Regions from separate parts of the Homo sapiens genome. Here regions 2, 3, 4, 5 and 6 are each linked to region 1. Evidence: promoter capture Hi-C in human tissues and cell types (Jung and others, 2019). All regions are on one chromosome and are shown on one strand. The core of a region is centred on a gene start or on the middle of the fragment in contact, and the rest is flanking DNA. Distances in the headings are between cores, read along the strand shown.

The links. Contacts are between HindIII fragments. The study calls those that stand out against the background at their distance.
Region 2: a fragment that was not itself captured here is called in contact with the fragment with the promoter of CYTH1 in region 1 in 2 of the 25 tissues and cell types used here (dorsolateral prefrontal cortex and thymus).
Region 3: a fragment that was not itself captured here is called in contact with the fragment with the promoter of CYTH1 in region 1 in 2 of the 25 tissues and cell types used here (IMR-90 fibroblasts and hippocampus).
Region 4: a fragment that was not itself captured here is called in contact with the fragment with the promoter of CYTH1 in region 1 in 1 of the 25 tissues and cell types used here (hippocampus).
Region 5: a fragment that was not itself captured here is called in contact with the fragment with the promoter of CYTH1 in region 1 in 3 of the 25 tissues and cell types used here (mesendoderm cells, spleen and thymus).
Region 6: a fragment that was not itself captured here is called in contact with the fragment with the promoter of CYTH1 in region 1 in 2 of the 25 tissues and cell types used here (dorsolateral prefrontal cortex and mesenchymal stem cells).

Annotation. Positions count from the first base shown.
Region 1 is chr17:78,780,278-78,785,123 of GRCh38, forward strand. CYTH1 (cytohesin 1) reads right to left here and starts at 1,996. Exons shown (of 14, transcript NM_004762.6): 1 at 1,925-1,996. The coding sequence starts at 1,946. RefSeq lists an enhancer at 1-97, silencers at 1,116-1,515, 1,776-2,055, 2,096-2,255 and a cis regulatory region at 4,781-4,846. The HindIII fragment of the contact is 23,878 bases long and covers 1-4,846 here.
Region 2 is chr17:78,293,694-78,298,539 of GRCh38, forward strand. No RefSeq gene overlaps it. Among named protein-coding and RNA genes, the nearest start is that of LINC01993, 18 kb to the left of the region's middle. The HindIII fragment of the contact is 9,751 bases long and covers 1-4,846 here.
Region 3 is chr17:78,310,747-78,315,592 of GRCh38, forward strand. No RefSeq gene overlaps it. Among named protein-coding and RNA genes, the nearest start is that of LINC01993, 35 kb to the left of the region's middle. RefSeq lists a silencer at 3,252-3,721 and enhancers at 4,387-4,846, 4,659-4,846, 4,822-4,846. The HindIII fragment of the contact is 4,231 bases long and covers 1-4,109 here.
Region 4 is chr17:78,335,098-78,339,943 of GRCh38, forward strand. All of the region lies in intron 1 of LOC105371912 (a long non-coding RNA gene), which reads left to right. Among named protein-coding and RNA genes, the nearest start is that of SOCS3, 23 kb to the right of the region's middle. RefSeq lists a silencer at 3,886-3,995. The HindIII fragment of the contact is 9,275 bases long and covers 1-4,846 here.
Region 5 is chr17:78,444,993-78,449,838 of GRCh38, forward strand. It overlaps DNAH17 (dynein axonemal heavy chain 17), which reads right to left. Exons shown (of 81, transcript NM_173628.4): 69 at 4,422-4,592; 70 at 566-688. Among named protein-coding and RNA genes, the nearest start is that of DNAH17-AS1, 37 kb to the right of the region's middle. The HindIII fragment of the contact is 9,864 bases long and covers 1-4,846 here.
Region 6 is chr17:78,470,408-78,475,253 of GRCh38, forward strand. All of the region lies in intron 54 of DNAH17 (dynein axonemal heavy chain 17), which reads right to left. Among named protein-coding and RNA genes, the nearest start is that of DNAH17-AS1, 12 kb to the right of the region's middle. RefSeq lists enhancers at 2,304-2,393, 4,536-4,585. The HindIII fragment of the contact is 9,669 bases long and covers 1-4,846 here.

The DNA of each region.
Region 1 (4,846 bases), core at 746-3,245:
GAGGCCAAGATAGGAACTGGAGTTCACACCAGCCTAGGCAACATAGGGAGACCTCCCTCTCTACAAAAAGAAATAAAAATAATTAGCAGGGCGTGGTAGCCCAGGCCTGTAGTCCAGGTTACAGGAGGGGCTGAGAAGAGAGGTGAGAGGATTGCTTGAGCCAAGGAAGCAGAGCGTGCAGTGAGCTATGAGAGCGCCCCTGCACTCCAGCCTGCGCAAGAGAGCTAGACCCTGTCTCAAAAACACAACAAAACAAACAACAAAAAAATGCACAAGCTGCTTTTACTTGTTTACTTATAAGGTAACAAGTGGGCTGGGTGTGGTGGCTCAGGCCTGTAATCCCAACACTGTGCGAGGCAGAGGTGGGAGGACTGCTTGGGTCTAGGAGTTCAAGACCAGCCTGGGTAACATGGCAAGACCCCATCTTTTAAAAAAGTAAAAAATTAGGGCTGGGCGCGGTGGCTCATGCCTGTAATCCCAGCACTTTGGGAGGCCGAGGCGGGTGGATCACCTGAGGTCAGAAGTTCAAGACCAGCCTGGCCAACATGGCAAAACCCTGTCTCTACTAAAAATACAACAATTAGACAGGCGTGGTGGCACGCGCCTGTAGTCCCAGCTACTCAGGAGCCTGAGGCAGGAGAATCGCTCAGCTCACCCAGGAGGCCGAGGTTGCAGTGAGCCGAGATGGCGCCACTGCACTACAGCCTGGGCGACAGAGTGAGACTCCGTTTCAAAAATAAAATAAAATAAAATAAAATAATAAAATAAAATAAAATAAAAAATTAGCCGGGCATGGTGGCGTGCGTATGGTTCCAGCCACTCAAGAGGCTGACGTGAGCTACGATCACGCCACTGTGCTCCAGCCTGGGTGACAGAGCGAGATCTCGTCTCTTAAAAAAAAAAAAAAAAGAAAAATGTCCCATTAGTTATTAAACTAGAATTGGGTTCCATTTGGCCACAGAGTTCTGCTTTATTTGTACTTTGCTACCAAACCACAAAAGTTCACCACTTGTTCTATTTGCCATTCTTCCTTTTAATTCCTCATGAACAAACTTAATAAATTAACTACAGCATGTCAAACAACCTTTTGCAACCCTTGCAATTTCAAACTCTTGGAGGGAGGCACCCCTGGCCTGGGCCAGCAGCCTCAACGCGCGGGAGCGAAGGGAGCGGGACAGCGGCTCCGCTTGCCAAGTCCCCAGTCAGGGGAGGAGCGGCGTCCCCACCGCGGTGCCCCTCGGGCTCCACACCCGCGTCTCGGCAGGCGGCGACGCACCGGACCGGCGGCTACCGGGCCCAGACTCCCGCGGGCAGGGCCGTCCCGGAGCCCGCGCCTCGCCGGCGGCGCCGCTCCCCGTTCTCATTTCTGAACAAAGACGTGGACCGGGCACAACTCGCTGACGCCGAGAGCGGCCGGAAACTGCGGGGAACGCGGGCCCGGCCATCCGCGCGTCCGCCCCGAGCCCCGCAGAGGGGCGGCAGGGCCAGCGACCTCCACCCCTCGGCCCCCCGGGACCCGGACTGCGACCCCTGCCCCGGGGACCCCAGCGACCCCAACGACTCTCATCCCTCAGAGCCCCTGAGATCCTGCCCCGCGACCCCAACGACCCTCATTCCTCAGAGCTCGCGGCGACCCCTGGCCCCGCGAGACCGCGAGCCCGGCCTGTGACCCCCGCCCCAGCCACCCACATCCCTCAGCGCCGCCAGCGACCCCGGCCCCGGCGACCCTCATCCCTCAAAACCCCCTGCGACCCCCGCCCCGCGAGGGCCCCGCGCACCGCTCGCCCGCCGGTCGCCCCGGGCTCCGCGTCCCGCACCAGTGTCCCCGGGAAACGCCAGCCGCCGCAAGCGCTGCCGGACGGCCGGGCCCGGAGGGGACTGGGGGACAGCGAGGGGGAAGCGTCCGCCGCCGGGGCGCACTGACCGTAGCTGTCGTCCTCCTCCATGGTGCGGGAGCCGGGCTCCGCGCTCCGGCTCGCCGCTCGCGTCCCGCCGCGCCACCCGCGCCCCCGCTCGCCTCAGCCCGGCTCGGAGCCCCGCCCCCGGCGCCCCGCGCCCCGCGCCCCGCCCGCCCGCGCCTGCGCCTGCGCCCGCCCCCTGCCCCCGGCCCGAGGCCCCGCCCCTCGCCCGAGGCCCCGCCTTCCTCCCGCGCGCGCCGCACCCCGGGTACCCGGCCTCCTCCCGAGGCTCCGGCCTGCGCACGCGCGTCCACCCGAGGCTCCTCCCCTGCCCCCGCCTCTAGACCACGCCCCCGTCCCGAGACACACACACCCCCCCCCCTTCTCCCGGTCCGCCTCCTGGGGCCGAGCAGGTTTCGGTTTCTGAAGGGCGGTGCAAGTCCCCGGGGTGGCGGACTCGACCTGGCCTGCAGCCAGGCTACTGCACGAAAGCCCAAGGTCGTGTCCGGCCACTGAAGGGCAGGGTGGTCCTTGCTGACGCCAACCTGGAAGGTCAGACCCGGCCCCAGCTTGCCAGGGAGGGCCCGGTCCTTGGCGAAAGGCCACAAAAGCTATTTGAAGTCATTTACTCCTGCGTTCAGAACCTTTACATGCTGTATGTCCTAAGTTTACTGCTTCTACTTCTTTTTATTTGTCCTGAGTTTTACCTGGGTCAAGATTGAAAGGAGGGCACTTCAAGTCCCAGCGTTTTGGATTTTATTTATTTATTGGAGACGAGTTTCGCTCTTGTTGCCCAGGCTGGAGTGCAGTGGCCCGATCTCGGCTCACTGAAACCTCCGCCTCCCGGGTTCAAGCGATTGTCCTGCCTCAGCCTCCTGAGTAGCTGTGATTACAGGCATGTGCCACCAGGCCCGACTAATTGTATTTTTAGTAGAGACGGGGTTTCGCCATGTTGGCCAGGCTGGTCTCGAACTCCTGACCTCAAATAATCCGCCTGCCTCGGCCTCCCAAAGTGCTGGGATTACAGGTATGAGCCACCGCGCTCGGCCTTCTCTTTCTTTATGACAGAGGACAATCCCACTGCTGCAGAATGCCAGCACCAGAACCCCCCTTTCCCCCTGCAGTCACTTGTGGCTCCTGCACCCTACACAGAACACTCACTGAGAACTCCACAGAGATCCCTGGACTGCTGGGAATTTTTTGGACCAACCAAAAAACGGGAGTAAAAGCCACAGAACTCTTTCCTTGTGGGCCCACCTGTCCTGAGTTTTACTATTTTTCTTTTTCTTTTATTTATTTATTCATTTTGAGACAGAGTCTCACTCGCTGTGTTGCTCAGGCTAGAGTACGGTGGCACCATCATGACTCCCTGCAACCTCTGCTTCCCAGGCTCAAGCAGTTCTCCCACCTCAGCCTCCTGAGTAGCTGAGACTGCAGGCACCGGCCACCATACCTGGTTAATTTTTGTATTTTTTGTAGAGACGGAGGTTGCTAGGTTGCCCAGGCTGGTCTCGAACTCCTAGGCTCAAGTGATCCTTTCTCTTTGGTCTCCTTCCTTGGCCTCCCAAAGTACTGGAATTACAGGCGTGAGCCACCACGCCTGGCTGGATTCATGATCTTAACCTTCACTGACTTTACCAGATTGTCCAGTTTTACAGGTGACCTTAGAGAGTCACATTTTGGCCCTAACGTGTCCTTGGGCTTCGGCGTGTGAGGTCAGAGACCCAGCTGCATTTTGTTCCTCTTGGCCTAGACTTAGGACACTTTTAGAATTGACCCCACATTGACCTGGCAAATCTTCTCAAACCATCTGTCACATGGGCTAATGGAGCACTGAGCCTCTCCCCCAGTATTTGCCATCCTCTGTTTCACTCCCTACTTCACTTCTAACCCCAGACTCACCAGAAGGTTCAAGGTATCTTCGAGCTGGCTTTCTTCCCTTATCAGTATGCAAGTCCCAGACCACCTCAGCTCTTGCTCAAAGACCAGAACTCCAGAAGAAAAGCGATTCAGATGGCATGTTAATTCTTACTATCAGCACTCTAGACCTCTTAGCTGAACTCACCAACTGAATAGATTTGGAGAGGGAGGGATACTGGTATTACTGCTAATCACAGATTAGCAGAGAACATGACTGTTTACAAATTCTGTTCCCTTATATTGTTCCATTAGACTGGTGTTTTTCAGCTGGGTGAAGTGGTTCATGCCTATAACCCCAGTACTTTGGGAGGCCAAGCTAGGAAAACTGCTTCAGGGCAGGAGTTCAAGACCAGCGCGAGTAACATAGAGAGACCCTGTCTCTACAAAAAATTAAAAATTGTCGAGCATAGCGGCACACGCCTGTAGTCCTAGCCACTCTGGAAGCTGAAGTGGGAGGGATCCTCTGGGCCTGGGAAGTTGAGGCTTCAGTAAGCTATGATTGCACCACTGTGCTCCAGCCTGGGGGACAGAGTGAGACCCTGTTTCCAAAAAAAAAAAAAAGAACAGTGTTTTTCAAACAGCGGGTCATGACTCTTAATGGTTATGAAACAAATACTTATTAGATGAAAAGAAAATAGAATTTTTAAAAAATTGTAGTCTATCACACATAATACAGAGACAGTGTTTGTTCTGGTTGCAAATGAATGCATGCATGTGTCCACTGGGTAGGGCTATCCCTGACCATGGATGACTGTCAAAGAAACACAGAAGCTACTCCATTAGATCACATTCATGATCAGAGATTTTTTTTTTTTTTTTTGAGATAGGGTCTTACTGTGTCATCCAGGCTGGAGTGCAGTTGCACATCTCGGCTCACTGCAGCCTCCACGTAGCTGGGATTACCACCATGTGCCACCAAGCCCAGCTAATTTTTGTGTTTTTAGTAGAGACAGGGTTTCGCCATGTTGGCCAGGCTGGTCTTGACATCCTGACCTCAGGTGATCCGCCCACCTCTGCCTCTCAAAGCA
Region 2 (4,846 bases), core at 1,711-4,210, 490 kb before region 1:
CTCCCGAGTAGCTGGGACTACAGGCGCCCGCCACCACGCCTGGCTAATTTTTTAGTATTTTTAGTAGAGATGGGGTTTCACCATGTTGGCCAGGATGGTCTCGATCTCCTGAGCTCGTGATCTGCCCTCCTCGGCCTCCCAAAGTGCTGGGATTACAGGCGTGAGCCACCGTGCCCGGCCTACACCCAGCTAATTTTTGTATTTTTAGTAGAGATGGGGTTTCACCATGTTGGCCAGGCTGGTCTTGAACCCCTGACCTCCGCTGATCCACCCACCTAGGCCTGCCAATGTGCTGTGATTACGGGCGTGAGCCACTGCACCCGGCCAAGTAGTTCCCTTTCTGTTGCATTGGGACCTAGAGGCACATGGCCTGGGCCTGCCCAAGGGTGTCTTGTGACCATGAGGGAGAGTCTGCAGAGGACAGGGCCCCTCCCCGTGCAGGAGGGCCTGGCTAGTTGAGTGAGTCTCTGATGAGGCAGTGCCTCCGAGGGTCAGTCATGCTCAAACTCAGTGTGCCCCAAGTCCTGACCCCTGGTATTCTGGGCTATCACTGCCCAGGAAAACAGCACTCCAAACCCTGGCCTTCAGGCCTGTTCCTTTATGCTTATCGCTGGAATCCCTGGTCCAGAGGGTCTTCAAATCCACACAAGCCCCTCCTGCTTGGCCCTAACCCGATGGGTTAAGCGTTTCAAGGGAGGGCTTGAGAGGTCCCCAGGACATGCCTGGAGGGCCAATAAATGACCGTGAACGGTGGTGAGTGAGGCAGGTGGAGAGTGTGACCATGAAGAGCAGGGCAGACTCCCCAGAGTACTGTAGGGAGGCAGCTGCAGTCTGGATGAAGAGTACACGCCAAGGCCAATTGTGGTTGCTGGTGGGATGCAGCTGGGAAAGCGAGAGTGAGGACCCCAGACCCTGGCGGCTGCAATGCCTGGGGGCATGTGACATGGTGGTGAAGGGGGAATTGTGTGTTGATCCTACCCTGGCCGCAAGTCCAGGCTCACAGGCCATGGCCACTGACCACAGGAAGAGGCCTCCCTCCTTAAAGTCGGGAGAATATCCCAGAACTAAGGCTAGTCCTGCATCCTGGCCGGGAATCCCAGGCCAACACCCTCCCCGCGATCTTAGGTGCTTAGCAGCCCTGGCTGGTGACCCCTGGGCGGAGAGAGTACGGTAATTTGCAAGAAATCCAAGAAAGCCCTGGTGAGTGGTTGCTTTTCCTATGTTGCAACCATCCGCGAAGTGAATGCTGCTCTGTGTCTCTATTGTTGTTTTGATGGTGTTCGAGATGATGAGGAGAACCTGAGTCACAGCCTTTACGAGTCTGATTTCCTCAATTTACAGGAGCTGCCTACGCGTTCTGGAAGAATTCACATGCTGATTTGTAGGCGGCCTGGCCAGGTGCTTCGGAGACTCCAGCAGCATCGAAGGTGTGATTTTAGATCTGTACTCCCGAGGCTCTTGTGTTATTTAAGAAGGTCAGTGTGAGGCCGGGCGCGGTGGCTCACACCTGTAATCCCAGCACTTTGGGAGGCCGAGGCGGGCGGATCACGAGGTCAGGAGATCGAGACCATCCTGGCTAACACAGTGTAAACCCCGTCTCAACCAAAAATACAAAAAATTAGCCGGCGTGGTGGTGGGCACCTGTAGTCCCAGCTACTCGGGAGGCTGAGGCAAGAGAATGGCGTGAACCCAGGAGGCGGAGGTTGCAGTGAGCCGAGATCACGCCACTGCACTCCAGCCTGGGCAACATAGCAAGACTCCGTCTCAAAAAAAAAGAAAAAAAGGTCAGTGTGGTTAAATGCATAAGAAGTAATCAGTGTGTTAAATGTATGAGTTAATTGAGCATAGCCCAAGTGAAAGTGATTGTGTTTTCATATTAAAATTAGATTTATAAAGAGAATGCTAAAACTTGTTGGATTTTGGAATGCAAGGTCTAAGTAAAGGTAGGTTTTAATATTGACAACTTTTACACTTGATATATTGACTCTTTTTTTTTTTGAGACTAGACTCTGTTGCCCAGGCTGGAGTGCAGTGCTGTAATCATGGCTCACTGCAGCCTCAACCTCCCAGGCTCAAGCAATCCTCCTACCTCAGTCTCTCAAAGTGCTTAGACTACAGGTGCATGCCACCATGCCCGACTAATTTTTTAAAAAAAATTTTTAGCGAGATGACTTAGTGAGAGGTCTCACTAAATTGTCCAGGCTAATCTCAAACTCCTGGGCTCAAGCAATCCTCCCACCTCAGCCTCCCAAGTAGCTGGGACTACAGGCACGCACCACCACACCCAGATAATTTTCAATTCTTTTTTTTGTCGATAGGGTCTTACTATTTTGTCCAGGCTGGTCTCAAACTCCTGGGCTCCAGCAATCCTCCCACCTCGGCCTCCCAAAGTGCTGGGATTACAGGTATGAGCCACCGTGGCCAGCCTTGACTCAATTCAAATTCAAGTCACTAAGTCTTCCTTGGAAAGCACAAAACCTCCCCCAGGCATTAAAATATTCAAGTGACACAGAAAAGGGAGAGGTGAAGAGGAGCTACCACCTGGAGGAGAAGGTGGGCTCTGAGCCGGGCCTGGAGCCAGGCAGGGAGGTCTTCTTAGCACCCAGCAAGCTGCACCACCCAAGCACTGCCCTCTGCCACCCCACCTCTGCTGGCATGGAAACCTCCCTCTGGGGGTCCCTCTGGCTTCTTGGGTGGAGCCTCTTTTTTTGAGACAGTCTCACTCTGTTGCCCAGGCTGGAGTGCAGGGGCACAATCTCGCCTCACCGCAACCTCTGCCTCCCGACTTCAAGCGATTCTCCTGCCTCAGTCTCTTCGCATAGCTGAGATTACAGGCACCTGCCACCACGTCTGGCTAATTTTTGGGTTTCACCATGTTGTCCAGGCAGGTCTCGAACTCTTGATCTCAAGCAATCCACCTGCCTCGGCCTCCCAAAGTGCTGGGATTACAGGCGTGAGCCACCACGCCTGGCCTTGAGTCGAGTCTTGATGTCTCAATCACACTGCCCCAAATCCATACACTTGTTTATTCATTCAGCAAACAATAAAGCACCTGGACACTCCAGGTTCCATGCCAGGAGCTGGAGTTCACAGGAGAGCACAGGCCTCGGCCCTGGGGCTGAGTCTTGCCGCCTTCTTCATGGCTTGTGACTGCTGTGGTCTGAATGCTGGTGTCCCGCAGATTCATGTGTTGGAACTTAATGCCTAATGGGATAGTACTAAGAGGTAGGGCCTTAGGGGGCTGGTTAAGTCATGAGGGCTTCACCCTCACAAATGGGATTCATGCCCTTATAAAAGAGGCTTGAGGGAGCATGTTTCCCCTTCCGCCACATGAGGACACAGCAAGAAGGTGCCGTTTGTAAGGAATGGGTCCTCGCCAGACACCAGATCGGCCAGTGCTTTGATGGTGGACTTCGCAGCCTCCAGCACTGTGAGCAATGAATTTCTGTCGTTAGAAAATTACCCAGTCTAAAGTATTTTGTCAGTCCGGGCGCGCTGCCTCACGCCTGTAATCCTAGCACTTTGGGAGGCCAAGGCGGGTGGATCACCAGGTCAAGAGATTGAGACCATTCTGGCCAACATGGTGAAACCCCGTCTCTACTAAAAATATAAAAATTAGCTGGGCCTGGTGGCACACGCATGTAATCCTAGCTACTCAGGAGGCTGAGGCAGGAGCATCGCTTGCACCTGGGAGGCAGAAGTTGCAGTAAGCCGAGATCACGCCATTGCACTCCAGCCCGGGAGACAAGAGTGAAACACCATCTCTAAATAAATAAATAAGAAAGTATTTTGTCATAGCAGCCTGAGCAGACTAAGCCCCTGGCCCTCACTCAGCCTCTCCTCAGCCTGCCACTCCTGATGGGGACCTACTCTGGCTCTGTCCTCCCCACCCAAACACAGCACCCCCACAAGCAGTGGGGAGAGGTCCCCAGTGGAGCAGGAGTCCTCCTGGACTTTGTACCTGGGGCCACCCCAGCAGTTACCGCTTTAAAAAGACCACAACAAATGCTAAGCTTTGGTGTTCTTTATAGAATTCTTTTTAAAAAACAAAAAAATGATCATCATGTTTTGTTTGTTTTCCATTTAGAAGAGAAACACTTTCTCATTATTTTAAAAATAGAAACATTACAGAATAGGTACTGTGGAAAGTGAAACTGTCCTTTCCCCCGCCAAGCCTCTGTCCCTCTCTTCTTTCTTCCTGGGGGCTCAGCCTGCCAGGGCCACTGAGCTCTACCATACAGGTTATAGCTACCTGTCACTTCTTTTTTTTTTTTTTTTTTTTGGCCCAGGCTGGAGTGCAGTGGCACGATCTCGGCTCACTGCAACCTCCGCCTCCCGGGTTCACGCCATTCTCCTGCCTCAGCCTCCCAAGTAGCTGGGACTACAGGCGCCCGCCACCACGCCTGGCTAATTTTTTGTATTTTTAGGAGAGATGGGGTTTCACTGTGTTAGCCAGGATGGTCTCGATCTCCTGACCTCGTGATCAGCCCGCCTTGGCCTCCCAAAGTGCTGGGATTACAGGCGTGAGCCACCGCGCCCGGCCCTTAATTTTCTTTTTAATGCTTCTCCGTATTTTCTAGCTTTCTACAAAGATTAAGTAATCCATAAATAATTTAAATAAAGTATCATTTAAAAGTCTATTCTTTTTGGCCGGGCGCTATGGCTCACGCCTGTAATCCCAACACTTTAGGAGGCCTAGGCAGGCGAATCACCTGAGCCCAGGAGTTCAAGACCAGTCTGGGCAACATGGTGAAACCCAGTCTCTACTAAAAATATAAAAATTAGTCAGGCTTGATGGTGCATGCCTGTAGTCCCAGCTACTCGGGAGACTGACGCAGGAGAATCG
Region 3 (4,846 bases), core at 744-3,243, 470 kb before region 1:
AGCTACTCGGGAGGCTGAGGTAGGAGAATTGCTTAAACCCAGAGACAGAGGTTGCAGTGAGCCGAGATCGTGCCACACTGCACTCCAGCCTGGGTGACACAAGACTCCATCTCAAAAAAAAAAAAAAAAAAGTACGTTTCCTAGCATATTTTATGGACATGAAAGCAAATGCTTGCATATACATATACACTTTCTTCTTTCTTTCTTTCTTTTTTTTTTTTTTTTTGAGATGGAGTCTCGCTCTGTCGCCCAGGCTAGAGTGCAGTGGTACAATCTCGGCTCACTGCAACTTCCACCTTCTGGGTTCAAGTGATTCTCCTGCCTCAGCCTCCTGAGTGAGTAGGTAGGATTATAGGTGCATACCACCACACCTGGCTAATTTTTATATTTTTTTAGTAGAGATGGGGTTTCACTATGTTGGCCAGGCTGGTCTCAAGCTACTGACCTCAGGTGATCCGCCCACCTCAGCCTCCCAAAGTGCGGGGATTACAGGCATAAGCCACCACGCCCCGCCAAACTTTCTTCTTTCTACCCCCATACAAATCATAGCATGCCATACACACTCTTCCGCACCTTGATTTTTATCCCTTAATATGTATTAGACTGTCAGACTGTCCTCTATCAGCCTTGAAAGGGCTCTCGCTCTCTCCCTTCCAGTGTTCCTTTGGACAGATGCGCCAGCACCTATGTGCCCCATTGCTGCATTTTGCACTGTGTACCTGTCAGGGTTCTGTGCAAGGCGAATCCACCTCAGGTGGTTCAAGCCAAAAGGGATTTTAACATAAGGAATCAGGAATTCATAAAATCATTGGAAAAGATTCATGGGCTTGAGAAAAACAATCACTGGGAGAGATGGAAGGTCAAAGCTTTCTGGGGTAAGGCCACGCCTCCACCACAGTCCCCGATCCTCCCCACTCCCACACCCACAAATCAGGCACTGAGATGGCAGAATGGGAAATGGAGCCACTGCCAACCAGTGCTTCTGCTGGAACCCACTTTCATACCCATGCAGCTGCAGAAAGACAAGAGTCTGTCTTCCTTCCACTTTCCAATCCCACAAGAACGCATTGATTTGCAGAGAGAAAGTCACATCTAGAGAGAACCTGGGAAAGAGTTTCTAGCTTTCCCACTGCTGTGGTCTGAATGTAACCCCCATCATAACTCCATGCAATAGTGTTAAGAGGTGGGTTCTTTGGGAGGTGATTAGGTCAGGAGAGCTTCTCCCTCGTGAATGGGATTAAGACCTTTATAAAAGAGGCTTTGAAGGCTGGACGTGGTGGCTCACGCCTATAATCCCAGCACTTTGGGAGGCTAAGGCTGGCAGATCACCTGAGGTCAGGAGTTCAAGACCAGCCTGGTCAACATGGCGAGACCCGTCTCTATTAAAAATACAAAAAGTTAGCTGGGTGTGGTGGCCCAGGCCTGCAATCTCAGCTACTCGGAAGGCTGAGGCAGGAGAATCACTTGAACCTGAGAGGCAGAGGTTGCAGTGAGCTGAGATGGCGCCACTGCGCTCCAGCCTGGGTGACACAGGGCGAGGCTCTGTCGAAAGAAAGAAAGAGAGAGAGAGAGAGAGAAAGAAAGAAAGAAAGAAAGAAAGGCTTTGTAGAGTGTTCAATTCAGCTCATTTTTTGCCCTTCCATCCCTTCTGCCCTGTAAGGATGCAGTGTTCATTCTCTCCGGAGGGTGCAGCACCAAGTCACCATCTTGGAAGCAGAGAGCAGCCCTCACCAATACCAAACCTGCCAGCACCATGATCTTGGACTTCTCAGCCTCCAGAACTGTGAGAAATACATTTCTGTTCTTTGAAAATTACCCAGTCTAGGTATTTTGCTAAAGCAGCATGAATGGACCAAGACACCAACCATCTAAAAAAAAGATTAAAGGAGCTGATTCCACCAGCCAGCATCTTGCTGATCTTCCACACCATGGCATAAAAAGCAGCAAGAGCTTTCACCTAATGCTATACAACTGTGCCCCAAACACACACACACACACACACACACACACACACCCTCTCCCCAGAATGAAAAACCTGATGTTCTGATCAGTCACTCTCCAGCTGTGGGTGGTGCTCACTCCTCTTCTGGGCAGAAATCCCATGAGATTAATTAAAGTCACCCATCCCCAGGGCCCCCAGAGGCATAAGTATCATTTGCAATATAGATTTTTCCAATAGTGCCCTCTTGGAATTGTGCAGTGTGCAGCCTGGACAACATTATGTGGTGACCCTGGGTCCTATACTTTATGTAGAATAGTAAGGAAAAAAAAAGAGGGAAAAAAGGAAATTAGTTAACATAAACAAAAATGAACAGGATAAAGGGGAAAGGTGTATGGTGGTCCCTCACTCTGCCATAGTTTCTACTGATAACTTCCTCCTTCCACCATCTAGCCATAATCCCTCCCCCTTGGCCAGCACCTCATATGGTCGTGGTTCTACCTGGGGTAACCCCATCTGTATATAATACAGCCGTCCCGCTGCAGGCCAGGTCGTGAACCAAGCTTGCAATAGGAGATACCCGTGACACAGCCCCTGCCCTTGAGAGGAGTCTCAGGCAGTAACAAACACAGGCCACTGGCTGGGCATGGTGGCTCATGCCTGTAATCCCAGCACTTTGGGAGGCCAAGGCGGGCGGATCATTTGAGGTCAGGAGTTCGAGACCAGCCTGGCCAACATGGTGAACCCTCATCTCTACAAAAAATACAAAAATTAGCTAGGTGTGTTGGCGCGCGCCTGTAGTCCCAGCTACTTGGGAGGCTGAGGTGGAAGAATCACTTGAACCCGGGAGGTGGAGGTTGCAGTGAGCCGAGATGGCACCACTGCACTCCAACCTGGGTGACATAGCAAGACTCTGCCAAAAAAAAAAAAAAAAAAAAAAAAAGCTGGGGGAAGGGTGAGCGTAGAAAATAGTTGTAGTTAAGAGACGGGGTTGGCTGGTTCAGCTTCCAAAGTCTAGGATTTGGTATCTGATAGTAAGAGCAGTGGCCAATGCGGGGGTCTCCAGGCAGGGCCCTAAGCACCGCGCCAGGTTAATGCTCCTCGCAGCTCTTGGGCAGGACTGACTGTTGGAGGCTTGTCCAGCAGAGACAGGAATGAGGGGACCGAGGACCCAGGCATGATGGGGCGGGGGCGCGGGGACCTGCAGCCCAGCGGGCTCGGACGACCTCGGACCCCCGCCGCTCCACGGGCAGGAAGGGAGCCCGGAGCGGCGCGGGTGCGCATTGATCGTGGTGCGGATGCAGCCGCTGCGGCGCGGCCCCGGCTTCTCTGCGAGCCCGTGCCCGGGCCGGGCTGTCGGGAACTCGGCCCGGCTCCACTTGCTCGCGCTTACTGGAAACGTGCTCCCGAGCGGCGCAAGGCTCGGCGGCTGGAGCCCGGGGCGGCCCTTGGCCGAGGGCAGGGCCGAGCCAGGTGCTCGGGCGCCCCAGGCTGCCGCGCCCTGCTGGGCCACCCTGGGCGCGTGCCACCCCCGGGGACCCGTCCCGTCCTGAGGGCGCCCAGGGCCTCCCAGCGCCGCTCTCCCCAGGGTGAGCGGGAGGAGGGAGGGAGCTGGGGGCAGCCCGGGGAAGCCGTGGGGCGGGCTTTCAGCAGCTGCGAGGCGAACCCGCCTCCCTTCCCGGTATTCTCGCGGCCACCCGGTGGAAGGTGGCGCCACGCCAGGGCCAGGCGGAGGCGGGGAGCCAAGCCCGCAGCCACGCCCTGCCCAGGGCGCAGGTGGGCTCGGCTGGAGGAGGTGCTGGGGGTGGGTGTGTCTCCTGACACAGGAAGAGCTGCCTCCTGGCTGCCCCAGTCACAGAAATGTTTATTGAGCACCTACTAGGCAAGGTGCGACCACTGCAGTGGGGGTGGGGGCACTTTTCTCCCCGGGCGTGTATATTTATTTATTTATAAACCATAGGCACTTTATTACTGGGTTTATATATTATGTATCCATAGAAGTTGAGATTTAAAGAGGATGAATTAAAAAATAGAAACAGAGGGGTTGTTTTCCTTTCCGTATGCCAGTGAGTTGTCTTATACATGTCCCACTTTGGAGACCTGGGTTTAGTGGCTGTATCCTGCTGGGCGCCCCCCTCCCCAGAGCTGGAGACAAAACCCCCACCCGCCCCCTGGTTCACGTCATCCTGCCTCATGAGGCCCAGGGCTGAGCTGTTTTCGGGGCCCTGGTCTCGGCTTCACAGCCTGCAGTGGAGTGTAGCAGATGGCAGACTAGGGTAAGTGAGGATGCCTTGAGATCTGGGTTCAAATCTTGCGTCTGCTGCTCCCTGGCCCAGTGACCTCGCACCTCTCTGAGCCTCAGTTTCTTCTTCTGTAAAATAAAGGGAGTGGCATCTCCCTCTTGCCCGGAGGTGGGCCTGGGGGCTGCAGGCTGCCCTCCTGATCTGCTCTGCTGCCAGATGGGCACAGATAGGCGGGGGGATGACAGCCCTGAGTGAACCCAGAAGGCAAAGTGGTTAGGAACACACCCCAGAGGCCAGGCAGGGTCCTGCAGGGTCCTGCAGATTCAGAGAAAGAACCCATTTATCCTGGGGTTTGGCAGAGATTATGGTTCCGGTAAAGGGTGGTCATTAGTAAAGTCCATGTCATGCAGCCGAGGGCCTGTGGGAAAGGTAGGGTTCAAGGAGGAGTTAGTGGGAGAGGAGAGTGAGGAATCAGAGTTGGTCAGTCAGACAGTCAGTCAACAAACACAAACTGAGCATGGCCTCTGTGCCAGGCATGGTTTTAGGCTGTGGATAACCAAGGAGCTTGCTCAGCAGCCTGGGGTTCTTTGCAGCCCAGGGTGTCCCTGTCAGGAGTGGGCACTGTGTCTCTGAGGAGCAGTGGAGTCACCTGCAGGCCAAGGCT
Region 4 (4,846 bases), core at 1,495-3,994, 440 kb before region 1:
TGAGCTGCTCCCTGGTAGGAAGGAAGCAACTGCCCCTGGTCTGTGTTGGGAGATGGACAGAGCTTTAGGATGGACAGGCGTTGGGGATGCACCAGTACACATAGGCGCTCAATAACGGTGGTCTTTATTCTCTTTCCTCTTCTGTCATCTGACACGATTCGGTCTTCTCAGCTAAGGACTGGGTCTGTCCTTCGCTCGTCCTTGTAGCCGTGACTACAACCTTCCAAGCCATTTTTGTTTTCTTAGAGGTTTTATTGGGAGCTGAGGGTTAATAGCACCCCAGCCCCTCCCATCAGGCTCAAGGGGCTCTTTTGCCTTCACTTGTGGTTGAGAGTCCTCCCTCCCTCCTGCCCTCTTCTCTGTCCTTTTGAAATATGAGCTCAGCTCCCTAGAAGGTATCAGTGCTTTATTTTGTACCCCTACCAACTTTCTTTCTCTTTTTTTTTTTTTCGAGACGGAGTTTCACTGTTGTCGCCCAGGCTAGAATGCAATGGCGTGATCTCGGCTCACTGCAGCCTCCACCTCCTGGGTTCAAGCAATTCTCCTGCCTCAGCCTCCCGAGTAGCTGGGATTACAGGCGTGCACCACCATACCCAGCTAATTTTTTCTATTTTTAGTAGAGACGGGGTTTCTCCAGGTTGCTCAGGCTGGTGTCGAACTCCTGACCTCAGGTGATCCACCCGCCTGGGCCTCCCAAAGTGCTGGGATTACAGGCATGAGCCACCATGCCTGGCCTCTTTCTCATAGAAATCTTTTGTGATTGAATTGTCTGAATTGTGGATTTTTTTTGGTCTACCTTACCATTTTCCTTTTTAGAACCTACAGCTTTCTTTTTTTGGCCAGCATTTCTTTTTGGAGAAATTTCCCCTAAAGTATAGGGTACCTATGTGATAATTTCCAGTATCTCTTCCTGAGCTATTATAAACTCACAGGGAATCATCCTGTATGAAGAGTGACCCCACAATGAAATTCCTTTCCTGGGGTTCAAACAATAGACTTAAAAAAAAATTTAAGACACAGGGTCTTAGGTCGGGCATGGTGGCTCACGCCTGTAATCCCAGCTACTAGGGAGGCTGAGGCAGGAGAACCACTTGATGGAGGTTGCAGTGAGTAGAGATGAAGCCACTGCACTCCAGCCTGGGTGACAAAGCCAGACCCCATCTGGCCAGACCGCCATCGGGAGATGGAGGTTGTAGTGAGCCGAGATCCTGCCACTGCACTCCAGCCTGGGCTACAGAGCCAGATCCCATCCCGCCCCACCCCCCCAAAAAAAGAGAGAGAAAGACAGAGAGACAGGGTCTGGCTCTGTCACCCAGGCTACAGTGGATTGACTTGATCGTAGCTCACTCACTGCAGCCTTGAAGTCCTGGGCTCAAGTGATCCTCCTGCCTCGGCCTCCTGAGTACCTGGAACTACAGGCACCAGCCGGTGTGCCCTGCTCAAGCAGTAGACTTTCCCTTGGAATAAAGACCATTATAATCCCCTCCACCAACTCTCGCAAAGCCATAGTTTGCCAGAGCCATTACTGAACTTTTTGACAAGGCAATCAGCTCAAATGCACCCAAACAGGTTCGGGATTCCTGAACTCAGCCCAGGCTTCATTGATGATACCTAACACGCCTGACTCTATAAGCGGCTGACTTTTAAAATAATAACTTTTTTTTTTTTCTTTTTGAGATGGAGTCTCACTCTGTTGCTCAGGCTGGAGCGTAATGGCATGATCTCAGGCTCACTGCAACCTCCTCCTCTTGGGTTCAAGTGATTCTCCTGCTTCAGCCTCCCAAATAGCTGGGATTACAGGCGCCCACCACTATGCACAGCTAATCTTTTGTATAAAATAATGACTTTTAAAATAATCCAATACAATAAGATCTATTAAGCACCTAGTACATAACTATGAACCAGGGATTGGGGAGAGAAAGGAGGAAGGAGATTTGATCTCACCCTCGAAGGGTTTAGAATCTCTCCACTAAGATTTTTAGGAGTTAGAGTTGGAAACTTCACAATCTAAAGTGAAGAAAGACGAACAGGGTAAAACTCAAGACAGTTTTTGTAAAAAGAAATGTAAAACTGTTTGCCTTCCTGTTTCTTCGTCAGGGATAAGTAATTTCCAGTCATCCCATCCATTAAACAAATATGTATTAAGAAAGAAAAACAGTCCAGGAGCCTACTGCGGGCACAACCGGGGTGCACAGAACCCATCTCGGGAGGCTGGCTCTGCCCCTTGAGAAAGTTCAAGATGAAGGGGATGCCAAGGCCAGAGGCAAATGTCCAGCCCTCACTAGCGGGGATCACCTCGAGTTCCACGCGAGGGGCTCAGGGTTGGGTAATCGAGAGTGGAAAGCTCTGGAAAAACCCTAATACCCCTGTTGCAACATTCTAGGAAAATGGTCTGTCTATTGAATAAGAGTGAGTCACCATGGGAAAGTTGGGGCGGTCAACACTACCCCGCACTGCTCATCCCCATTCTTTGGCTCCTAGTGATGCTCCGGTCACCCTCTGGGGGCCATGGGGAGGAGGCAGTGACGCCGTGATCCGGAATTTCAACGAGACATATGCAAATGGCCCAATGGGCTGTGAAGGAAGTTCAGAGACAGGAGGATGAGGCAGCTCAGTGTTTCTAACCCACAAAGCAGAAGTGAGAATGGGTGAGAATTCCCAGTCACCTTCCCCTTCTCCTTTCCCTTCTCACTCTACCCCAACCCTACTCCCTGTGTGGGCCCTCTGCCCCTTCCCTGTTCAGAAATGAGATCACTGGGTGGGTGCAGTGGCTCATGCCTGTAATCCCAGCACTTCAGAAGGCCGAAGCCGGAGGATCACTTAAGGCCAGGAGTTCAAGACCAGCCTGGGCAACATAGTGAGACCCCCGTCTCTGCAAAAAAATTAAAATCAGCCAGGCGTGGTAGTGCACACCTGTGGTTCTAGCTACTTGAGAGGCTGAGGTTGGGGGATCACTTGAACTCAGGAGGTTGAGACTGCAGTGAGCTATGATCACACCATTGCACTCCAGCCTGGGTGACAAAGTGAGACCCTGTCTCTTTTTTGCTTGAGATGGAGTCTTGCTCTGTCGCCCAGGCTGGAGTGCAGTGGCTCAATCTTGGCTCACTGCAACTTCCGCCTCCCGGGTTCAAGCAATTCTCCTGCCTCAGATCTCCCCAGTGGCTGGGACTACAGATGCAAGCCACCACGCCTGGCTAATTTTTGTAATTTTAGTAGAGATGGGGTTTCACCATGTTGGCCAGGCTGGTCTTGAACAGGTGATCCACCTGCCTCAGCCTCCCAAATTCCTGGGATTACAAGCATGAGCCACCATGTCCAGCTGACCCTGTCTCTTAAAAAAGAAATTGAGATCTCTGACTTTTACCCAATTACCCAAGTCTGTCAAAGTACCCATCTGTAAAAGAAACCAGCCTTGTAAGGTTCCTTTCAACTCCAGAATTGAGGAGTGGGTTTGGGGGCAGTCAGAGGGGGGTGCTGGTGAGCAGGTGACAGGAGAAGGAAGAATCTCCAGTTGAGCCCCCACTATGTGTCAGGCCAGGAACCCAGGGACCTCACCAGAGCCCTCTGTAGAGGTCAGCATCCTCGTTTTACAGATGACACAATGACAGCCTAGTCGGAGGATGATGACACCAGGATCTGACCCAGTCTTCCCAGGCTCCCCCCCCCAACTGGAAGCCCCCCAAGATTGAGCAGACATATTCTTTCAGGAAACACCACCACTCTGGTTTATTTCAGCTGCAGGTCTGATCTCCATAACAGAAGCACACCTGAAAAATACTGCCTTAGCCGCTGAATTTTGATAGAGCAATTCTATATTCCTGGTAACTTCCTCTGTAATTAATCGTCAATTGATTACTCCGTCACTTACATGTGAGTGTGAAGGCGCTGGCTTCTTTGTCAGGAAGTGAACTCTCTATTGACGAATGAGTCAAAGCACTGGGCGGCTGTTACTTATTCATGAAGGAGGGCATTGGCGCGTTTAGGTTTCCCCTCACCTGTCCAGCACGCCCTGAAAGATTGTAGTACAGAGTCCTGGGGAGAAAGTGGTTTCCTGCCTCTCCCTGGGCTCATATTTGAATGGTACTTTCTTTCTCTCTCTCTCAGCAGACTAGGCTCCTCTCAGCAGATTTCCATCCCAAGTTTGGGTAGCTCTTGCCAAACCTTTTAACCCGTATTCTACAGCAATAATCCAAGTTATAAATAAAACTATTCAATTCAGCTATCTAGTTAATTAAAGAATTAGTAGCCACTTGTGGATAATATTTATTTTTCTGGGCAGTGAACTGAGTTAGTTGGACTGGGCATGGGGATGAGTTCAATATTTTATTAATTTTCCTTGAGGATAGCTATATATTTAGTACACATGTAATACAATGTATTAGTGTGATAACTTTTTTTTTTTTTTTTTTTGAGATGGAGTCTCACTCTGTCACCCAGGCTGGAGTGCAGTGGCACGATCTCAGCTTACTGCAACCTCTGCCTCCTGGGTTCAAGCAATTCTCATGCCTCAGCCTCCTGAGTAGCTGGGACTACAGGTGGACCCCACCATGCCTGGCTAATTTTTGTATTTTTAGTAGAGATGGGGTTTCACCATGTTGGCCAGACTGGTCTCAAACTCATGGCTTCATGTGATCCTCCCACCTCTGCCTCCCAAAGTGCTGAAATTACAGGCAACAGCCACCTCGCTCAGTCAACTTTCTTTAAAAAGGAAGGATGACTGGGCACAGTGGCTCATGCCTGTAATCACAGCACTTTAGGAGGCTAAGGCGGGAGGATGGCTTGAGCCCAGGAGTTCGAGACCAGTGTAAGCAACATAGGGAGACCCCCCCCCCACCCCCACCGTCTC
Region 5 (4,846 bases), core at 1,736-4,235, 330 kb before region 1:
GGAGCCTCCTCGGCAGGGTCTAACCTGCGGACATGAGGCCTGGGATGGGCTAGGGGCTGCTTCTCTAGGGGTCTCTGCAAATGGGGCCATTCTAGCTCAGGGGACGACCTTCTTCAGGTCTTTTTGAACAGACCTTGAGACTCGAGGGTCCCTGACTGTGTCCAGGAATCTGAAGAACAAACTTTTCACTTGCCACTTCCCTTACGCTGGGAGGAGGGGAGGCTGGGGGGAGGAGGGGAGGCTGGGGGGAGGAGGAGAGGTTGAGGGAGGGATGGTAAGAGGCCCTGAGGCCTCTTCTGGCCCCCAGAGGATATCACTCTCTGCTTGCTGTGTGCAGGTCTCAGGGACCTAACACATGTCACATTCCCTATAGGAACGCAGAGCTATCTGTGAGCTGGCAGCCAGCCCATCTTGGTCTCCATCCCTATGTGCGGGGCCTCCTTGCTTTACTGAATTTATGGGCCACAGAGCCTGGTATTCTGGCCTTGGAAACATCCGCAGCATCAGCTGGAGGGGGCTCCACGGCGGGGAGAAAGCACAACGTGTTCAACGTCTAAAGACGAACCTTGATCCCGCCCCAGCCTTGATGCTGGAGGAAGTCCACTGGTGAGACCACTCCGGCCTTAAAAGGGAACCGCAGGAGGAAATCCAGCTCCACTGGGTTCAGCTCCTTCTTCATGGACAGGACCTGGGGGAACATCGAGGTGTACACACTTAACGCAGCCAGTAAAACGTCAGCAGCCCTGAAGATGCGCGCTGGACTCGAAGAGGAGTTCACACTCCCGGCCTGCAGGGGGCGCCCTGTCCTGCCCCTTTGGTTTGGGGTAAAGTTTTGTCTTCACCTCGTCTCGCTTTTTAAGTTGTGAAATACACATACCATAAAATTGACCATTTTGGCCGGGCACAGTGACTCACGCCTGTAATCCCAGCACTTTGGGAGGCCGAGGAGGGGGTGGATCACTTGAGCTCAGGAGTTCGAGACCAGCCTGGCCAACATGGTGAAACCCTGTTTCTACTAAAAATACAAAAAAATTAGCCGGGCGTGGTGGTGCATGCCTGTAGTCCTAGCTACTCGGGATGCTGAGGCAGGAGAATCACTTGAACCTGGGAGGCAGAGGTTACAGTAAGCCGAGATTACGCCACTGCGCTCTAGCCTGGGCAACAGAGTGAGACTCTGTCTCAAAAAAAAAAAAAAAAAAAAAAAAATTGACAATTGTAACCATATTTTAGTGTGCAATTCAGTGGCATTTCACATGATTCGCAGCATCGTGCAACCATCAGCACTCTCTAGTTCCAGGACTTTTTTGTTACCCCCTCGCCCCTGAAGCAGCCACTCCCCATCGCCCCTTGCCTCTGAGAGCTGCTCATCTGCCTTCTGCCTAGGGATGCCCCTGTTGTGGATGCTTTGTATAAATGGAAGCACACGACATGCCCCGTTTGCATCTGGCATCTTTCACTTAGCGTGATGCTTCTGAGGTTCATCCATATTGTAGATGTGTCAGAACCTCCTTCCTCTGTAAGGCCGAGTAATACTCCATTCTTGAATATAACCACGCTGGCATTCTCCATTCACCTGCTGATGGACAGCGGGTCGTTTTGGCTGTTGTGAATTGATTAGCTTTGCTGATTTTTTAAATTTATTTTATTATTTATTATTATTTATTTTTTTGAGACAGAGTCTCACTCTGTCACCCAGGCTGGAGCGCAGTAGCGCAATCTCGGCTCACTGCAACTTCCACCTCCTGGGTTCAAGCAATCCTCCTGCCTCAGCCTCCCAAGTAGCTGGAATTACAGGTGTGTGCCACCATGCCCGGCTAATTTTTGCATTTTTTGTAGAGACAGGGTTTCACCGTGTTGGCCAGGCTGGTCTTGAACTACTGGCCTCAAGTGATCTGCCCACCTTGGCCTCCCAACGTACCAGGATTACAGGTGAGAGCCACTGTGCCCGGCCTTGTTGTCTTTGAGAGACAGGGTGTTGCTCTGTTGCCCCGGCTGGAGTGTAGTGCTGTGATCATGGCTCACTGCAGCCTTGAACTCTTGGGCTCAAGTGACCCGCCTATCTCAGCCTCCCAAGTAACTGGGACTACAGGTGTACATCACCTCACCTAGCTATTTTTTTGTGGAGATGGGGTCTTGCTATATTGACTGGGCTAGTCTCAAACCGCCTCAAGTGATCCTCTTGCTTTGACCTCCCAAAGTGTTGGGATACTAGGCATGAGCCTCAGTGCCCGGCCTCATCTGGCTTTTGGCTGCTGCGATTAATGCTGTTGTGAATGCTGATGTACAGGAATGTGGACAGATGCTGGACACCTGTTTACAGGTCTTGTGGGTGTGTGCCCAGAAGTGGAAGCCTGGGTCATATTCCATGCCATCTTGTCGCTTGTGCATGCCGGCCCTCTGGACCTCCTGTGGGCAGGGTCTGGGTCATTTTGAAGTGGTGTATTGGGCAGCTAACCTGGCACCCTCTGTCTCAGATGGGCAGCAGGTGGCTGGGAGCAGGGGCAATGGCCACTGCCATCTCCTCAGTCAAGTGCCCAAACGGTCTGTTTTTCAGATCCCATAGAGAGTTTCTTCCTGAGCTGGACTCTTTCTTTTGGTCAAACAAAACGTTCTTTGGGACCAAAGAGAATGCTTTCTACCCTGGAAAATTAGGGGGAGCACTGAGGAACTCTTATCCTGATGACCTCTCAGCCAGGAGAAAATCTCATAGTGAACCTATGATTCAGAGATTCACATGTAAAAGGAACCTTCATAATATGGACCCCATTGGTTCAAAGTTTGAGTTTGAATTGAAAGCCAGGCTTACACTGATGCCCAACCTGTTTATACAATTAGTGTTGCCCAGCCTGGGCAATGTAGCAAGACCCTGTTTCTTTAAAAACATTTTAAAAAATTAGGGCCGGGTGCGGTGGCTCATGCCTGTAATCCCAGCACTTTGGGAGGCCGAGGCTAGTGGATCACCTAAGATCGGGAGTTCGAGACCAGCCTGACCAACATGGAGAAACCCCGTCTCAACTAAAAATACAAAAATTAGCCAGGCATGGTGGTGCATGCCTGTAATCCCAGCTACTCGGAAGACTGAGGTAGGGGAACTGCTTGAACCCGGGAGGTGGAGGTTGTGGTGGGCTGAGATTGCACCATTGCACCCCAGCCCGGGCAACAAGAGGAAAACTCCGTCTAAAAAACAAACAAACAAAAAAACCAGAACAGAAAAAAAAAAAAATTAGCTAGGCACAGCAGTGTACACTTGTATTCCCAGCTACAGGGAGGTTGAGGCAGAAGGATCACTTGAGCCCAGGAGTTCAAGACCGGCCTGGGCAACAGAGCGAGACTTTGTCTCTACTAAAAAATAAATAAATAAATAAAAAATTAAAAAACTGAAGAATTAGCCTAGCATGGTGGCACATGCCTGTAGTCCCAGCTACTGAGGCGGCTGAAGTGGGAGGATTGCTTGAGTCCAGGAATTCAAGGCTACAGTGAACTATGATTGCACCACTGCACTCTAGCCTGGGTGACAGAGTGAGATTGTCTCAAAATAGCAGCAGTAGCAACAACAACAAAAACTAGTGTTTCCAACCATACTTATGGCACAGTGTAAAGGAAATTGCAGAGGGGCTGTACTATGGTTTGAATGTGTTCCCCAAAAAGCATATGTTGGAAACTGAATCCTCAGTGCAACAGTGTTGGGAGGTGGGGTCTGAGAGGCAGTTGGGCCGTGACAGCAGAGTGAATGGCTTAATGTCATGATCAAGGGAGTGGGTTTGTTACACAAGGAGTTTGGCCCGTTTTGTGCTCTCTCTCGCCCTCTAGCCTTCCACCATGGGATGACACAGCAAGAAGGCCCTTGCCAGATGCCAGCACTTTCATATGGAACTTCCCAGACCCCAGGACCATGAGAAATAAATTTCTATTGTTTATAGATTACTCAGCCTTGGGTATTCTGTTATAGCCGCACAAAACAAATTAAGACAGGCTGTTTAATCAATTTCAGAGAATGCAGATCTTTAAATATTTTAGCAGGGCTGTATAAACAGGAGGAATATTTGTTTATTCATACACTTATTTCTTAAGAAACATCAGTCACCCCACAGTGGGCTAAGCACTAATGCAGGACTATTTACTCAGCACAACTTACATGTAAAATGAATTTCCTTGTGAAATTCTCCTTAAAACACCACCCCTTCACTAGCTCCCATTGGAATACTGTGCCAGCTTCCCAAATATCAACTAGGAGAGCCCCAGGCCTGTTCCACGTCAGGCATCTCAGACTTTATAATCACCTGGGTATATTGCTAAAATGCGGGTTTGAAATCACCAGGTTTGGGTGGGGGCCCAACAATCTGCCTTTCCACAAAGCTCCCAGGGGTCAGTGACACCGCTGGTCCACGGACCACACTAGGAACAGTGAGGCTAGACATTACCTGAAACGTAACTTGTGCCAGGAAAATGAGTTTGTCCCTCTCGAAGAGTCCCCGGGCCGTGTACATGTAGACGGAGTAGGTGATCTCGTCCGTCAGGTTGATCACCCGCTGCTTCACCTCGTTGGCAGGGGTGGTCCTCTGGATGGCTTTCTCAAACACCACGTTGAAGGCCTGGGGATCCGCCACCGAGAGCCATGGAGGCGTGCAGAGATGGAGCCCTTCACCACTCCCCGCCACCACTCCCTGCCACCTGTGGTGGCCTCCAGTTTGTTTTGTTTCTTTGAGACAGAGTCTTGCTCTGTCGCCCAGGCTGGAGTGCAGTGGCGTGATCTTGGCTCACTGCACCCTCTGCAGTGAGGGAGGTTGCAGTGTTCAAGCGATTCTCCTGCCTCAGCCTCCCAAGGCGCACACCACCACACCTGGCT
Region 6 (4,846 bases), core at 2,347-4,846, 310 kb before region 1:
GGCCGGGCACGGTGGCTCACACCTGTAATCCCAGCACTTTGGGAGGCCGAGGAGGGTGGATCACCTGAGGTTAGGAGTTGGAGACCACCTGGCCAACATGGTGAAACCCCATCTCTACAAAAAATACAACAATTAGCCAGGCGTGGTGGCACGCACCTGTAATCCCAGGTACTTGGGAAGCTGAGGCAGGAGAATTGCTTGAACCCAGGAGGTGGAGGTTGCAGTGAGCCGATATTGTGCCATTGCACTCCAGTCTGGGCAACAGAGTGAGACTCCGTCTCAAAGAAAAGAAATAAGTAACAGTGAAAATGGTCAATTTTATACTATGTATATTTTACCACATATGCAAAAGGAAAGAAAAAAATCTTAAATGGAGACCCTAAAAGAGGCCCTGAATAAATATACTGCAGGCTTGGACTGGGAGCCTTAACAGGCAACCCCCTTTCAGAGTCATCCACAGCAGGATTTAAGGACAGGGCGAGAAGATGGTTTCATAGGAATTTTGCAAGAATAAATGAAAAGTTTTTTTTAAAGCATTTTACAGAGCAGTAGGAATAGCTCGTTATTTTTGAATATGCCATTTCCATGTATATATATGTTCAGAAATGCCTGCCAGTTTCATCCAAGTAGTGATGTGTATTTCCAGCGTTTTGGCGATTTGCTTATCTATAATATTTAATTTAAAAAACAAGACCTATGGGCTTCTGTACTTATTGAAGAGGCTTTAAAAGTGTCCATATAGGCACCCCAGTGGCTGCTCCATCCTTCGGAAGCAAGTCCGACTCCCTGAAATCTCTCTGTTCAGAGAAACCTCACCAGGCCTCCTCTTTGGGAGCTGACTGGGGTCAGAAGCCAGCCTCAAATCTCCTATCTCTTGACAAGCTAAGAAAAAGCAAGGGGAAGCTCTGAGCCTGGAAAAGCAGGTGGGCAGCAGGTGGGCCGCAGGTGGGACTTGAGCCAAGGCTATGTCCTTGGACCCTGCCTCGAGGTAAGGAGCGTAGTGTGAGAGCCAGCAATGACCTTGAGTCAAAGACGAATCACTCTTCTCATTTCACAGTGTAGCAAGGACATTGGGTGGAGACTGACCATACCAGAAATCTTTTCCTTTTTTGTTCCTTTTTCTGACTTTACTTTTTTAGAGATAGGGCCTCACTCTGTCGCCCAGGCTGGAGAGCAGTGGCATGATCATAGCTTATTGCAGCCTCGACCTCCTGGGCTCAAGGGATCCTCCTTGCCTTGGCCTCTCAAAGTGCTAGGATTACAGGCTTGAGCCACCGCTCCCGGCCCGTCTGGCTTTCACAGCCACACTGTCCCATATGGAGTGGCCCTTACCCTGCCCACTGTGACCGCTGGGCTGTCCCCACCTCACCTTCCCCGCTCACTCTCTGGCACAGTCCCCTCCACTCCCGTCCTCTTATGCTGCTGAGGCTGGCCCCCACATCTCTACCCGCATCCTATCCCTGCACTTCCCAGCCCCATGTGTCCCGCTGTGCGATGGCCGCCTCATCCCCAGGTATCTCATCTCCTCCGGGCCTGGCCCCAGGGCAGTTCTCCCCCACCCTCCCTCCTATCTTGGTTGAGAGCCCCATGGTGCTACTGAAGCTGGATCTGCCTGCGTCCCTATCATCACTGTCAGCCAAGGACGGCAATCGTCACCTGTATCTAGGCCCGTCTAGGGACCAGCCATTAATAAGGGGCACAGGCTTCCCTTTCTTTGGCCAAAACATCAGCAGCAGTGCCTTTCCTTGCCATAGCCAATGCCACTGGCAGTAGACAGGCAGGACACGGAGCCGAGATTTGGGAGTGGGGGTGTGTGAGACATTAGGGTTATGGAGTAGGGGTGCGAGGGTTAGGGTTAGGGAGTAGGGGTGCGAGGGTTAGGGTTAGGGAGTGGGGGTGCGAGGGTTAGGGTTAGGGAATGGGGGTGCGAGGATTAGGGTTAGGATTTGGGAGTGGCGGGTGCGAGACACGCAGCAAGGCCTCCTCCCTGAGAATAACATGAGGCCAAGCCCCCACCCCACCCGATGGCTGCTTCTCACCCCTTCCCTCTCATTTGCAGGAAGCTGGCGGGGAGGCGGGGACCTGAGCCGCTGAGACCACGGCCCCTCATTCTGCTGACAGGCTTTCTTCATGGGGCAGCCCAGCTCTGGCTGCTGACTCAGGCTGGGGTGAAGGTTTCACAGAAATAAAAACTCCCCACCGCCTGGCCCCGGGGGCTGTGTGTGGGGTGTGGGGAGGGGAGCTGGGGTAGCACCTGAAGGTTTCGGATCCTGGACCCCAGCCGAGTCCCCGAGGTCACGCACGCTGTCTCGGCAGGCACAGCCCTCGCTGGCCCTGGTTTCCCCTCCCCCTCCGTTCTCCCTTCTCGTCGCACCTGCCCACTTTCAGCCTTTGTGGGGTCACAGAGCTTGTGCCCCAGCTCCACCCAGGTCACCCTTCAGCAGTTTCTGTGCTTTCAAACTATCCTTCCTGTGTCCTAGAACACTACCACATCCTGCCCGCTCTATCCCCTGATCAGACATCTTGATGTAGTCTCGTTTTCTTGGGACCAAGCCCAGGGCTTTTCACACGGCACACTGTCCTCCAGGGTCCACCCTCCACCCCTTTCCTGTGCACCCCTAGCCTCCAGCAGGTGCCACAGCTTCCGGGACCTACTTTATAATATTACATAATCACAAACATATATGTTACCCCCATAGGGGTGAGCCTATTACTATGGCAGCACCATTAGAACGATAATCATGTCGAATGGCTCAGGAGTCTAGCTCCCCCAATACAATTCAGGAACTTATAGCCCTGTTTACCTCTGCCCTTAGTTCTGAATCCACAGAAGCGGCTTAAGAAATGACAGTGATGGCCGGGCGCAGTGGCTCACGCCTGTAATCCCAGCACTCTGGGAGGCTGAGGCGGGCAGATCACGAGGTCAGGAGATTGAGACCATCCAGGCTAACACGGTGAAACCCCGTCTCTACTAAAAATACAAAAAATTAGACGGGCGTGGTGGCGGGCGCGTGTAGTCCCAGCTACTCAGGAGGCTGAGGCAGGAGAATGGTGTGAACCCGGGAAGCGGAGCTTGCAGTGAGCTGAGATCGCGCCACTGCACTCCAGCCTGGGCGACAGAGTGAGACTCTGTCTCAAAAAAAAAAAAAAAAAAAAAAGAAATGACAGTGATAGCAAAGCTGATTTGTGATGGGTGCAGGGACAGTGAAATTCCACAGCCCAGATCACAGAGCCACAGCAGCTGATGAATAAAATAGTACCGCTGAGGCTGAGGCTGAGGCTGAGCACCCACAATCAGCCCCAACAGGAAGGATCAGGGAGAAAATCCCCGCAGGGACGCAGAGCAAGGAAACGATGCCGTCATGAACGTAAACCAACGTGATTTAGTTAATAGACTAGAGACTTCAATGGAGAAAGCTCAGTAAAACCATACGGCTCCAGGTTCAAATGACACTTGAGTGGCCGCAGATACCAATGTGAACTAACTCCATCAGATGCGCTGAGAACCCATGACACACTACCGCTCATGGGTCCAGAGGACAGGGCTGTGTTCAGGAGTGCCCATCTGAGGAGTTCAAAAAAGAGCAGGCCGGCCCCTTTATACATGGAGTAGAATCTGCTGGGAAGGCAGAGAACAGCCAGCCAGAAACTGGAGGCTCTCCCAGAGGTTGGCCGTCCCTGGCACAGCCTGCACTGCCCCTCCAGGGTCTCTGCCTGCAGACACCTCCCACTGCTCCCAGCATCACTGGCTCCAGGTCTGCCTGCTAAAGCCACCAGCCCAGCGACTGTCTGAGGGCCACGTACTGCGGGAGGGTCCCCTTAGGTTCCCCCTTGGGTCTGGCATCGTCCTGGCCCCACAACAGCGGCCCCAGCACACAGAGAAGGCATGGCCGTGTAGGACGGCCCAATCGATTTCAGGTCTAATCTCAAGCACGATGATTCCTTCTGAACTAATGGCACGCAGTTGCCTGGGAGAGCAGATTTTCAGGAACAAGAAATCAATAAAAACCCTCAGCAGTGTGTGTTGGGCATGGGAGACCTTATGTTTAGTCTAATGTTTATTTCATTCATTCCAAAAGCAGCCATTCAGCATCTCAGGCATGCAGTTAGACACCCAGTCATGGCTCTGAATTCTGTAGTCTGGAGAGAATAGGTAACAATTTGGAACACTCAGTGACCAAGGGCAGGGATCCAACCTCTCTGCCTCTGTGATCTGGGTTGATTCTGTGGACTTGTGTCCATCGAGTAGTTGACAGACACACTCTTCACCTCAGTCACACGGACACGCACACTGGCTGGAAGGTTTCACACCCTTCACCTCAGTCACACTGGCCAGATTTCACACCCTTTACCTCAGTCACGCGGGCTGGAGGGTTTCACACTCTTCACCTCAGTCACCCGGGCACACACACTGGCCGGAAGGTTTCACTCTCTTCACCTCAGTCATGCGGGCCGGAAGATTTCACACCCTTCACCTCAGTCACATGGGCCGGGAGGTTTCACACGCTTCACCTCAGTCACACGGGCCGAAAGGTTTCAGACCCTTCACCTCAGTCACATGGGCTGGAAGGTTTCACACGCTTCACCTCAGTCACATGGACATGCACACTGGCTGGAAGGTTTCAGACCCTTCACCTCAGTCACACGGGCTGGAAGGTTTCACACTCTTCACCTCAGTCACACGGGCACGCACGCTGGCTGGAAGGTTTTCTGGCCTCTGCTTTCTAAGATAAAGACCCTTTGGATAAGGACTATTGGTGATGCTCGGATTCCCTGTACTCGCTGGCTTCATTTTGGAAAAGGGAGTGAAGTTTTTCTTTACTCCCTGACCCTACCCTGAAAGGCA